3 separate regions of the Homo sapiens genome follow, and regions 2 and 3 are each linked to region 1. The links are contacts of gene promoters, found by promoter capture Hi-C in human tissues and cell types (Jung and others, 2019). All regions are on one chromosome and are shown on one strand. Each heading gives the region's core, a stretch centred on a gene start or on the middle of the fragment in contact. The rest is flanking DNA. Distances are from core to core; before and after follow the strand shown. Region 1 holds the start of RPL35A (ribosomal protein L35a). Region 2 has its middle 21 kb from the start of BDH1. Region 3 holds the start of LOC105374309 (a long non-coding RNA gene).

Evidence for each region. The method cuts DNA at HindIII sites, captures the fragments that hold promoters and counts their contacts. A contact is called where the count stands out against the background at its distance.
Region 2: a contact is called between a fragment that was not itself captured here and the fragment with the promoter of RPL35A in region 1, in 1 of the 25 tissues and cell types used here (IMR-90 fibroblasts).
Region 3: a fragment that was not itself captured here is called in contact with the fragment with the promoter of RPL35A in region 1 in 1 of the 25 tissues and cell types used here (lymphoblastoid cells).

The regions. Positions count from the first base shown.
Region 1 is chr3:197,948,009-197,951,610 of GRCh38, forward strand. It overlaps RPL35A (ribosomal protein L35a), which reads left to right and starts at 2,182. Exons shown (of 5, transcript NM_000996.4): 1 at 2,182-2,213; 2 at 2,928-2,970; 3 at 3,151-3,303. The coding sequence starts at 2,960. All of the region lies in intron 2 of DRC9 (dynein regulatory complex subunit 9), which reads right to left. RefSeq lists enhancers at 1,585-1,804, 1,884-2,666, 3,450-3,602. The HindIII fragment of the contact is 11,846 bases long and covers 1-3,602 here.
Region 2 is chr3:197,574,729-197,578,570 of GRCh38, forward strand. No RefSeq gene overlaps it. Among named protein-coding and RNA genes, the nearest start is that of BDH1, 21 kb to the left of the region's middle. RefSeq lists an enhancer at 1,612-2,113. The HindIII fragment of the contact is 3,172 bases long and covers 578-3,749 here.
Region 3 is chr3:197,476,461-197,480,108 of GRCh38, forward strand. LOC105374309 (a long non-coding RNA gene) reads left to right here and starts at 1,526. Exons shown (of 2, transcript XR_924902.1): 1 at 1,526-1,648; 2 at 2,728-3,191. RefSeq lists an enhancer at 1,838-3,037. The HindIII fragment of the contact is 3,417 bases long and covers 1-3,247 here.

The DNA.
Region 1 (3,602 bases), core at 932-3,431:
TGAAACCTCCCCCTACCAGGTTGAAGCGATTCTTGTACCTCAGCCTCCCAAGTAGCTGGGATGACAGGCACACACCAACACCCCTGGCTGATTTTTGTATTTTTAGTAGAGACAGGGTTTCACTATGTTGGCCAGGCTGGTCTCAAACTCCTGACCTCAAGTGATCCACCCACCTCAGCCTCCCAAAGTGCTGGGATGACAGGCGTGAGCCACTGCGCCCGGCCCATACTTTGTTTTAAAAAGTATTCTTATCATGCTCTACTAATGGTCATCACCTGCAGTTTGAAAAATGCCTTAACTGACACTTGTCCAAGTGATCCTTTCGCTGACTCGTCAGGCCAGATCAGGCTTCTGGGCACTCATGCCACTACTTTCCCGCAGAGCTGTGTTCACAATTTGTTACGTTAGTGTCAGTTTCCCCCCACTAGACAACTGTTCCATGAAAGCAGCAACATGACAACGATGCTCACAGTTGTATCAGGTGCTAAGTCTCAGTGCTCAATAAGTATTTGTGGAACGAATAATACACGAGCAAACGAATGAAACTCACACTTAATGTGTTATTCCTCCCAGGAGGACTTCCATATAGAACTTTGACAAATCAATATCTAATAGTGAAATTTCTAGCACATTTCTTTCTGGGACAGGGAACACTGGGTGGGGTAGTAGGCTACAAGGTACAAGTTCTATCCTGTTGTATTTAAGAGAGGATCTGATTTTAAAAGTGACTTATATACATCTATTTCATACAACTTCGGAGTCATACTTTACTCTCTCTCATTCCTCATCCACCAGCAAATCTTGCCAGAATTTAAATATATTCAGAATTCCAGTACTCAATATCCTCTGTTTACACACCATCACCTCTCATCATAGTCACTACAGGAACCTATAATTATCTTCCTGCTGATACCCTTGCCTCCCTTCACTTTCAACACAGTGACTTTGTCAATATAGAAGTCAGATAGAGTCACCCTTCTGTTCAGGACCCTTAAATAGTTCCCATCTCAAAGCAGGGGAAGCCTCTTTTACATACTTCCCATCTCAAAGTGGGGAAAGCCTCTTTTACAGTGGCCTCTCTGCTTAATTTTCTTCACAGAAATTATCATCTTCTAACGTGTCATCTATTTTTACTTGCTCATTGTGTTGCTCCGCCTCGTAGGATATAAGCTCCACGAGGGCATAGATTTGTTTACTGCCGTGTCATCTTACACAAACCTTGGTACAGGGTAGTCATTCATTAAACTATGTGTTAAATAAATGAATGAATCCATAGGATAACCCAAATAAATATGCAATAATTCGGAAATGTGAATCTCTGGCGTCCACTAATCCACCTCTACAAGTATCTACGGAGGACCTACTAGGTGCGGACACGAGGCAGCTAAACGAGTTCTCCTAAAAGGGCGATAAAGCCTCCTGCAGGCAGTCCTCCTCATACCTCGGATCCAAAAAGAAGAATGGAGGTAAGAACTTAAGTCATTTCATTCATTTTTTTTTTCTTTTGTAGAGGTTGGGGGAGGTGGTCTCACTATGTTGCCCAGGCTGGTCTCGAACTCCTGGCCTCAAGCGATCCTCCCGCCTCGGCTTCCCAAAGAGCTGGGTTTACAGGCGTGAGCCACTGTGCCCAGTCTCATTTCTTGAAAGAGATAAATAAGTAGAGGGGAGAAAAGAAGTATAGAAAAAGAAAAAAGAGAAGGAAGAGGTCCTGCTGCCTTCGTGCTCCCGGCCTTTCTCTTCCATGCTAGATTAGGATCCCAGAATTTCCGTTCTGTCTATTGCTGTGTGTATCGAGAGAAAAGCACCCCACTGTTGGCAAATCAATCTTACAGTCAATCATTCTTTAGGCAGCGGGAACATCCTCCACTCAGGGTTCGCCTTTCCACCTACGGCGTCCGGGGACGCAGGAAGTAAACTAAGTTGTTTCTATGGCAACGCACAGCTTTGGCGGATTTAGCTGGCTACCATTTTGCCTTCCCTTGTTCCCAAGTAGTACATTTTGCAGCCTACCAAGATGAAAGGACTTAGGAAAATAATTGTAAGAGTGCTATTGAATGTGGCTTATTTCAGTGCGAAGCCGATTTCCGAGGATTGTTTTTCTGGCGTTTGGAGAAGATGCCTAAATTGAGGGCGGAGTCGAAAGATGTTTAATCCCACAAGGCCACGCGGCGGGGCCTCGTCCTTCTCTTACCGCCATCTTGGCTCCTGTGGAGGTGAGTGAAGGGTCTGCTGCTGAAATTTGGGGGCAAATAACCGGAGTAGGTTTGTTCCTGTGCCTTGGCGAGTCGCCGGTGCGTATCGGAGTCTCTGCCAGCCATTGATTTCTACGGGTTTCAAGAAGAGGGAGAACAGGATGGAGGAGATGTTGGGCTGATGGTGTTTGGTCCCCTGACACCCGGAGAACGGCTGCCCGGGTTATCCCAGTTAAATTCCTGGGCCTGAACGGAGTGAAACGATGTTTTTGTTCGTGTGCAGTTGTCCATGAGGCAGTGCTTCCTTCATCCGTTTCCTCCCAGTCCATACCTTCCTTGGCTTGTCTGACCAGTCTCTTTCCTCAGCTTTTCTCCCCCAGCCATTGCATAAAAGTCTTACGTGTGTGTTTCTCTTTAAGGCTTCATTTCTTTTCCTGAGTGTTGCCTACTGATAACGGCATGCATTTTCTCAGGCTTTTCTGAGAGTCATTTTTGTGACTCCTGTCCCTTAGTTTTGTCTTCATTCTGAAGTTTGCTTAGATACCAGCTGTTCTCTGAGGTTTGAATGTCTTGCCGGACCCTGCGTTTCATATGGATGTTCTGGCATTGTTGTCCCCGAACTCCTACATGAAACTCCCATCCAAAAGGAATTTGCTTTAGGGGCTTAAACGAGAGGGGACGAGGTGGGAAACTTGTGTGGCTTGGTTTTAAACTAATCTTTTTGTTTGTTTTAAGGCCTGCTGGGAACGGGACTTCTAAAAGGAACTATGTCTGGAAGGTACGCGTTTTAAATATAGTTCTTTATTTTTGTGTGTTAGACGTGAACGTAAATGCGAGCTTAAAATTGGCAAGAAAAAACTTAGATGTTTGCTCTGAGTAACTTTTGGGTGGGGGTGATTACAAGTCAGATTGGTTTTTTGAAGCTTATGTTTCATGTTGTGTATCTTTTGTGTCTTAGGCTGTGGTCCAAGGCCATTTTTGCTGGCTATAAGCGGGGTCTCCGGAACCAAAGGGAGCACACAGCTCTTCTTAAAATTGAAGGTGTTTACGCCCGAGATGAAACAGAATTCTATTTGGGCAAGAGATGCGCTTATGTATATAAAGCAAAGAAGTAAGTTTATGACACTGGTAGGTTTTGGGTTTTTGAGATCTGCCTCATTTTCTTTTTTATATAACGGAGTCTTGCTCTGTTGCCGAGGCTGGAATGCAGTGACTTGGTCTCCCTCACCGAAACCTCCGCCTCCCGGGTTCAAGCAAGTGTCCTGTCTCAGCCTCCCGAGTAGCTGGGATTACAGGCGCCGGCCACCACGCCCGGCTAGTTTTTGTATTATTAGTAGAGACAGGGTATTGCCATGTTGGCCAGGCTGGTCCCAAACTCCTGACCTTAGGTGATCCGCCCACCTCGGCCTC
Region 2 (3,842 bases), core at 914-3,413, 370 kb before region 1:
ATTTTGGGGCCCCAAGATTTATTTTCCTTTCACACACCTAAGGACTTTGTATCCTCTTCTGGGAAAAGGATTAGTGCAGTAGGATGCAGTTGTAGCAAGGATAGTTGTGTCATGTTAGACAGAACTACGATCTTGTTATTGTCTTTACTTGAAGGTGAAGTATGATTTAAGGAGAGATGTGTGGGTCCCAGATTGACAAGGAGCAGACTGGTGATGATTAATTTTACATGTCAACTTGGCAGGAGTGAAAATTGTAAATTCTTTTTCTGTAAAGGTTTTATTATGCAGAGGAGGGGCTCAGTCCTTGGCAGCTGCTTTCCTCATGGCGGCTCAGTACCCAGATATTTGGTCAAACTGATAGCCACGGGATGCAGCCAAATGCATTGGCAGGTGGGGGTGGGTCCCTGGTGAAACCCCACCTTCCAGCCAAAAACAGAGCTGAAAGGCTGGACTGCTGGTCCCAGACGAAACCCACGACTCAGACTTAGAACTTCTGTTCCTGTTTGCCCACCCTTTCCTGATTGATTCTTTCTGAATAATGCCTTTTAACCAGTTGAATGTTGCCTTTTCCAATACTACCTATGGCCTGCCCCTCCCCTATTCTGAGCCCATAAAAAGCCCCAGACCCAGCCACTTGGGGAGGTGAGAACCACCCGACTGTGGGGCTGGGGGGCCACCCCCTATGTCCCCTCTCCGCTGATAGCCATTCCGTCACTCAATAAAATTCTTCTCCACCCCCATCACCCTTCAATGTCCAGTATATCCTCATTCTTCTTGGTGTGGTACAAGAGCTCGGGAACCATTGAATGCAGGTACAACCTATAACACAGGCAAGCTGGGGCATGCCAGCCTGGCTGAGGGAGGTCTGGACAGGACATCGCCAGCTGGGGGTTTCCAGCTTGCAAAGTGACCAAGAACAAAAATCCTACCTCAAAACATTATTCTGGTTGTTTTTGTGAAGGTGTTTTTTGAATGAGATTTGACTGATGGAATTTGAGTAAAGCAGTTACCTCTATAATCTGGGTGGATTTCTTCCAATCAGCTAAAGGCCTTAATGGAAAAAGACTGACTTCCCCAGGAAAGGAAGAAATTCTGCAAGCAGACTGCCTTCAGATTCAAACTGTAACTCCTCCCTGAGTCTCCAGGGTCTTAGCCTACTCTACAGATTTTGGACTTACCATGCTGTTACAGGAAAGGGGTCCCAATCCAGACCCCAGGAGCAGGTTCTTGGATATCATGCAAGGAAGAACTCAAGGTAAGTCCATAGAGTAAAATGAAAGCTAGTTCATTAGGAAAGTAAATGATTTTTAAAAATGGCTACCCCATAGGCAGAACAGCCCTGAGGGCTGCTGGTTGCTTTTTTTTTTTTTTTTTTTTTTTGGCTATTTCTTGATGATATGCTAAACTAGGGGTGGACTATTCATGCCTCCCCTTTTTAGACAATTTAGGGTAACTTCCTGATGTTGCCATGACATTTGTAAACTGTCATGGCGGTGGTGGGAGTGTAGCAGTGAGGACCACCAGAGGTCACTCTCATGGCCATTTTGATTTTGGTGGGATTTAGCCGGCTCCTTTACTGCAACCTGTTTTATCAGCAAGGTCTTTATGACGTGTATCTTGTGACCTCCTATCTCATCCTGTGACTTAGAATGCCTAACCATCTGGGAATGCAGCCCAGTAGGTCTTGGCCTTATTTTACCCAGCCCCTATTCAAGATGGAGTTGCTGTGGTTCAAATGCCTCTGACAAAGCCTCTACAGTCGTATGAGACAATTTCTAAACTCTCTCTTTCTGTCTCTCTCTCTCCACACACACACACACACACACACACACACACACACACACACACGCGCACACACACCACTGTATATAGACTGGTTCTGTTTCTTTGGGGAACTCTGACTGATATACTCACTCAGTGTGGTCTGCTTCCTAGACTGGAGTCTGATACAACGTTGAAATAGATTCCTCTGCTGTGGAATTGGTCTGTCTGCGACCTGGAGCATAAGTCAGGTAGGGGCCTGGTCTCAGGCCAAACAGGACATGTGAAACTTGCTTTTCACCCCCTCCACCCCCTGGGGTCTCTGTAGTCCCTGCCATCCAGGTGCTCACAGCCCAAGGAAGGGAACAGACACATCCGCAGCTTCCTCCCTTCCAGGACAGCTTGGGCCCAGTGAGGCAAGTGAGGCATAGCCATGGAGCTCTGGGACGGGGAAGGAACTACTCCTCCAGCGTGGGGAGGGTCATGTAAATTAGGCAAAGCCATGGAGCTCTGGGATGGGGAGGGAACTACTCCTCCAGCTTGGGGAGGGTGATGTAAATTAGGCGTAGCCATGGAGCTCTCAACGGGGAGGGAGCTACTCCTTCAGGTTGGGGCGGGGAGGAGGGTAAGCTGCAGGAGACAAGGATGGCCAGGGAAGCTTAGTCCACGTTCACCGGCCTTTGTTCAGAGGGCACTGGAGGTGCATTAACTTTACACAAAAGCATCTCAAAGACCAAAAAGCCCTCAAGACCTAAAGAAGTGAGTCTCAAATGGTGGTGTTCCAGGTTCCTGAAAGAGATATTTTGAACAATGGGGCCTTCCCAAGCATCCCCCAGACCAAAACATATTATTAATTGGCAAAAAGAGAAAAAGAAGATCTCAATTAAATAAAAAGGAGCATGACTACTTTCAGTGTCACCCTTCCTTCTCTCACCATTGTCTACCAGCTCCGTCATTACCCGTTTTCCTCAAAGATGTTTGCTTCAGCCTCTCCCATCCTTTCCCCTCCCTTCTCCCCGTTCAGTCACCCAGACGCTCTCCTGTTCACCACTTACACGCAGCTCCCTGGTGCATCCCTCTGCACCCAGCATTACAGGGAGGCCGGGGGAGGAGCTAGCAAGGACCGGATCACCAGGGGGTTGCTGTCAGGACTACCCTTTCCAGCAGCTCCAGGTGGTACCTTGGGACCTGCCCAAAGGCAAACACTTGGAGAAGGTTCTGTCTCAGGAGGGTGATGCAGGCTGTGAACAGGGTGTCCGCTGTGGCCTGAGCCAGTGGCCAGACTGGAAGGAGGAGAAATGAAGAAGCTGAAGAGAAGAGACTGGGGAATGGCTGTGGGGGAGGCTGGGGAGCTTATCTCCTCCAGGTAATGTGTCTTCAGGGGCGTCTCTCTGACTCACGGCAGATTCACTGGGTAATGGGTGTGTTCTTAAGGCAACGCAACCACCCAGCAACACGTCTTTTTTAGGAAGCCCTGGCCAGCCAGGGTATCTCTAGGTTGTCCTGGTTTAGCATTGCCTCCTAGCCGGAGACTTCTTGAGGCTGACTAAAGGTTGCTGGAAGCTTTCTTGCTTCTTCATCCCTCCTACTTCCTCAGGTTCTGCAGCCAGGCTCCAGTGCAGGAGAAATTCAGCTTCCCTCGCTCAACATCCTGCTTCCTCTCTCCAATCATTAGGTCAGGTCTGGGGAGATGAAGGATGTAGGACACAAGTTGGGGTCAATTAGGGGAAGTCAAGGAGAGTATGGGGCATGAGGAATGCACAATAGGGATATTGGGGAGAGCTGGAAACAAAAGACCACCAGATTGAGTAGCCTAGTCTCCCAGTGCTGACTGAGCTAGAAGGCAAGGCTCAACTGGCAGTGGGAAGAGAAGTGAGTTCAGACATGCCAGGCTGTCCTTAGAGGTTATCCCTTGAATGGCTGCGTATCATCCTCATGATGTGAGGCTGTGGCTGCCACAGCAGGGGAGCGTGGAAACCGTGCTTGCAGGAAGAGTGTGTTCTTCACGATGTGAGGCTGTGGCTGCCATAGCAGGGGCCCGTGGAAACCATGCTTGCAGGAAGAGTGTGTTCTGACAAGCA
Region 3 (3,648 bases), core at 289-2,788, 470 kb before region 1:
TCAGCAGACGATTTTCCTTTCTTCTCCTTTGTGTGCACTTCTGGGGCTGCTAATGACAAGTCACAGCACAGAGTGTGAAATCTGCCGCTCTCCCAGGGGGCTCCGTCTCAGGTCATTCTCCTCACTGCTTCCCACTCCCTCACTGAAAAGCCTGCATCCAAAGCCCATTACTGGCTCCAGGGTGTGGACCTTGCAGGGAAGAACTGTGTAAGGACAAGACAAAGAGCAGGGCTGAGTGCCGAGTGCCCGGTCAGTGGGGAGGGGGATGTGCTGTGGGATGAGGAGCCCCTGGTTCCTCATCTCCTGGTTTTATCCTCGTCCTCCCCGCCCAGCGAACACCCTCCTCACCCTAACCGTCTATCTTGTTGTTTCCTGTGAGTTTGGTGTCCTCTCCTTCCATTAAAGCTTCCATTAAACCTCTCTGAGGTTCAAGTCTCTGGTGGCCAGACCTATTGTCTTACACATTTAGACAATGCTCTTCTGCTCATGGGCAGCCATCAAATATATGTGTTGACTTATAAAAGATATACCATCTCTTTTTTTTTTTTTTTGAGACAGTCTATATGTGTTGAGTTATTAAAGATAGACTTTTTTTTTTTTTTTTTTTTTTTTGAGACAGAGCCTCGTCTGTCACCCAGGCTGGAGTGCAGTTGCACGATCTTGGCTCACTGAACCTCCACCTCGCAGGTTTAAGTGATTCTCCTGCCTCAGCCTCCTGAGTAGCTGGGACTACAGGTGCCCACTACCATGCCCAGATACTTTTTGTATTTTTAGTAGAGACGGGGTTTCACCATGTTGGCCAGGCTGGTCTTGAACTCCTGACCTCAAGTGATCCACCCACCTTGGCCTCCCAAAGTGCTGGGATTACAGGCGTGAGCCACTGCGTCCAGCCTATAAACCATTTCTTAATCCAAAGAGCTTGAAGTGCAAGGAGACCCTCCCCTGAAGGCAGGGCTGTCTCCTGGAGACATGGGTGAGGCATATTGGGGATTCAAGTGGCCGAGTCTTCTGCTTCATGCTGCCCAGGCATCCTGGAGAGCTGCCGGATGAAATAGAAGACACCCAGATAAATTTGAATTTCGGGTAAACAATGAAAGTAGTATACGTTTATCCCATGCAATATTTGGGACATACTCATACAAAAAATTATTCATCATTTATCTGAAATTCATTTTAAGTGGATATCCTGTTTTTTGTTTGTTTGTTTGTTTGTTTTTGAGACAGGGTCTCCCTCTGTCACCCAGTCTGGAGTGCAGTGGTGCAATAATGTTTCACTATAGCCCCGACCTCCCAGGCTCAAGTGATCCTCCCACCTTAGTCTCCTGAGTAGCTGGGACTACAGGTTTGCACTACCATACCTGGCTAATTTTGTTTATTTTTTGTAGAGACAAAGTCTCACTATATTGCCCAGGCTGGTCTCAAACTCCTGGACTCAAGCAATCCTCCCATCTCAGCCTCCCAAAGTGCTGCAATTACAGGCGTGAGCCACTGTGCCTGGCCCATCCCGTATTTTTATTTGCTTAATCTGGCAACCTTTCCTTAGAGGCTCCTGGAACGCGCCGCTGCAGTCATTCCGGCGCACCCAGTTAGAGCTCCTGCTCTGGGCCACTGAGACCAAAGAGAAATGGTGTCAGCTGTGAGAAACTTGGTAAGTTTGTAGATTGTTGACTTATTCCCTCCAAACAATTTTGCAACTAAAAAAGAAGGAATACTTTTTTAGAATTCCTTTTAAATGTAGGTTAAAATGTGTTTTGTCATATTGTATATGTTAGATATCATAGAATCTATTAAATTTAAACAGGAATTTACAATTTACAAGAGTGTGGCCACATACATTCTTTTTTTTTTTTTTTTTTTTTTGAGACGGAGTCTCTCTGTGTCACCCAGGCTGGAGTGCAATGGTGCAATCTTGGCTCACTGCAACCTCCACCTCCTGGGTTCAAGCGATTCTCCTGCCTCAGCCTCCTGAGTAGCTGGGATTACAGATGCCTGCCACCACGCCCAGCTAATTTTTGTATTTTAAGTAGATACAGGGTTTCACCATGTTAGGCAGGATGGTCTTGATCTCTTGACCTCGTGATCCACCCACCTCAGCCTCCCAAAGTGTTGGGATTACAGGCATGAGCCACCGCACCTGGCCATACATTCTTTACTCTCAAGATTATTCCCCAAAACACCTGGACAGGAAGGTAGACAATCACCACCTGTTTCATAGTTGAGGCACCCAAGGCCCAGGGAGTTAAATGATTTGCTGACAGTCCCAGGAATAGTTACAGTGCAGCCAAAGCAGGTCCTGAGGCTTAGGCTCCTGGTTCAATGCTCCTCACTCCTGTACAGCTTGCCTCCTGCTCAGGCTATTGGACTCCAAGTTAATTAGGCAGCAAAGAACTCTGGGAGGAGCTGAAAATGAGGGGAAGTGCCTGGAGAGGCTGGCATAGGGTGAGCAAAGCAGAATGGCATGTTTTAATTGATTTTTGATTGTGCCAACGACTGCAGGCTCCTAGGGCAAGCAACTGCTGCTTCTGAGTCAGCACCCTTGCGTGAGGCTCAGCCTTCCCAGAGTGCAGGCATTGCTGGCTCTTTTTGTTCTCCCCCGAGCTCTTTGTGTGGGAAGTGGGTCTGTACAAAGCAGAAGGTTTCTTCTTTAATTGGCCAAACAGCTGGGAGCCTGGAGTCCTGGGAATACGGTCCAGGGTCACCTACAGCTCTCCCCATCCTTCCACCCAGCTTATCCTGGAAGCCCCAAGAGACGCAGCTCTGCTGATGCAGCTAGACACAGCTCCGAAGACACCACAGGAAGCTTTGGAAGCACAATATACTTTGTGAAGAAATTTGAAAACTTCAGTGCTACTTAGCAAGTTTCTTGGCATTAGCAGTTATCCAGGGACTCCCAGCGGGTATCTACCCAGCTGGAGAAAGAAATATTCCAACAGGAAGGAAGAAACTCTCCAATCTCACTGCAGGCCTGGATATTTGGAAAGATCTCATCACCAGACAGGGTGAAGGACACTGGACTTTGACTTTTGGACTCACATAGCCAATGGCTTGCTTGGCGTCTTCACAAAGATATCTAACAAGCATCTCAACCCTAACAGAACTCTCGGTTCCTTCCCTCTCATCCCCAACATACGCCCCCACTAATGTTCCCCATTTCAATAAAATAAATGGTTTTGGCTTAAGCCAAAAGCCTAGACTCCTCCTCGATTCCTCTCTTTCTCACATCTCCACAGCCAACCTATCGGCAAGACCTTCTGGCTCAGCCATCACAAGGTATCTCGAATCTGTCCACTTTCACTCCTTCTTCATTGCTGCCATGTGCTTCCAAGCCACCAGCATCCATTCAAACAACTCAGTTAGGTCTGTCCGTGGCCACCCTGGCTCTATGACAACCCATTTTCCCATACAGCATCCCGAGACCCTAGGCGACCTGGCTGCTGTCTACCTCTCCCACAATGAGCTTCTCTTCCTTCAGGTAAGAACTGGAATGTTACATGACCCTGTTCAATTTCATCAGTGTACTTAGAAGAATCAGCCATTTTAATACTCGTTCATTTGTGTTTGTTGTCACGCCTCCCTCATTTGATGAGGGTGGACCATGTCTTATTCTCTGCTAATTTGCCAGTTTGCATGTATGTTCATTTCCCAGGA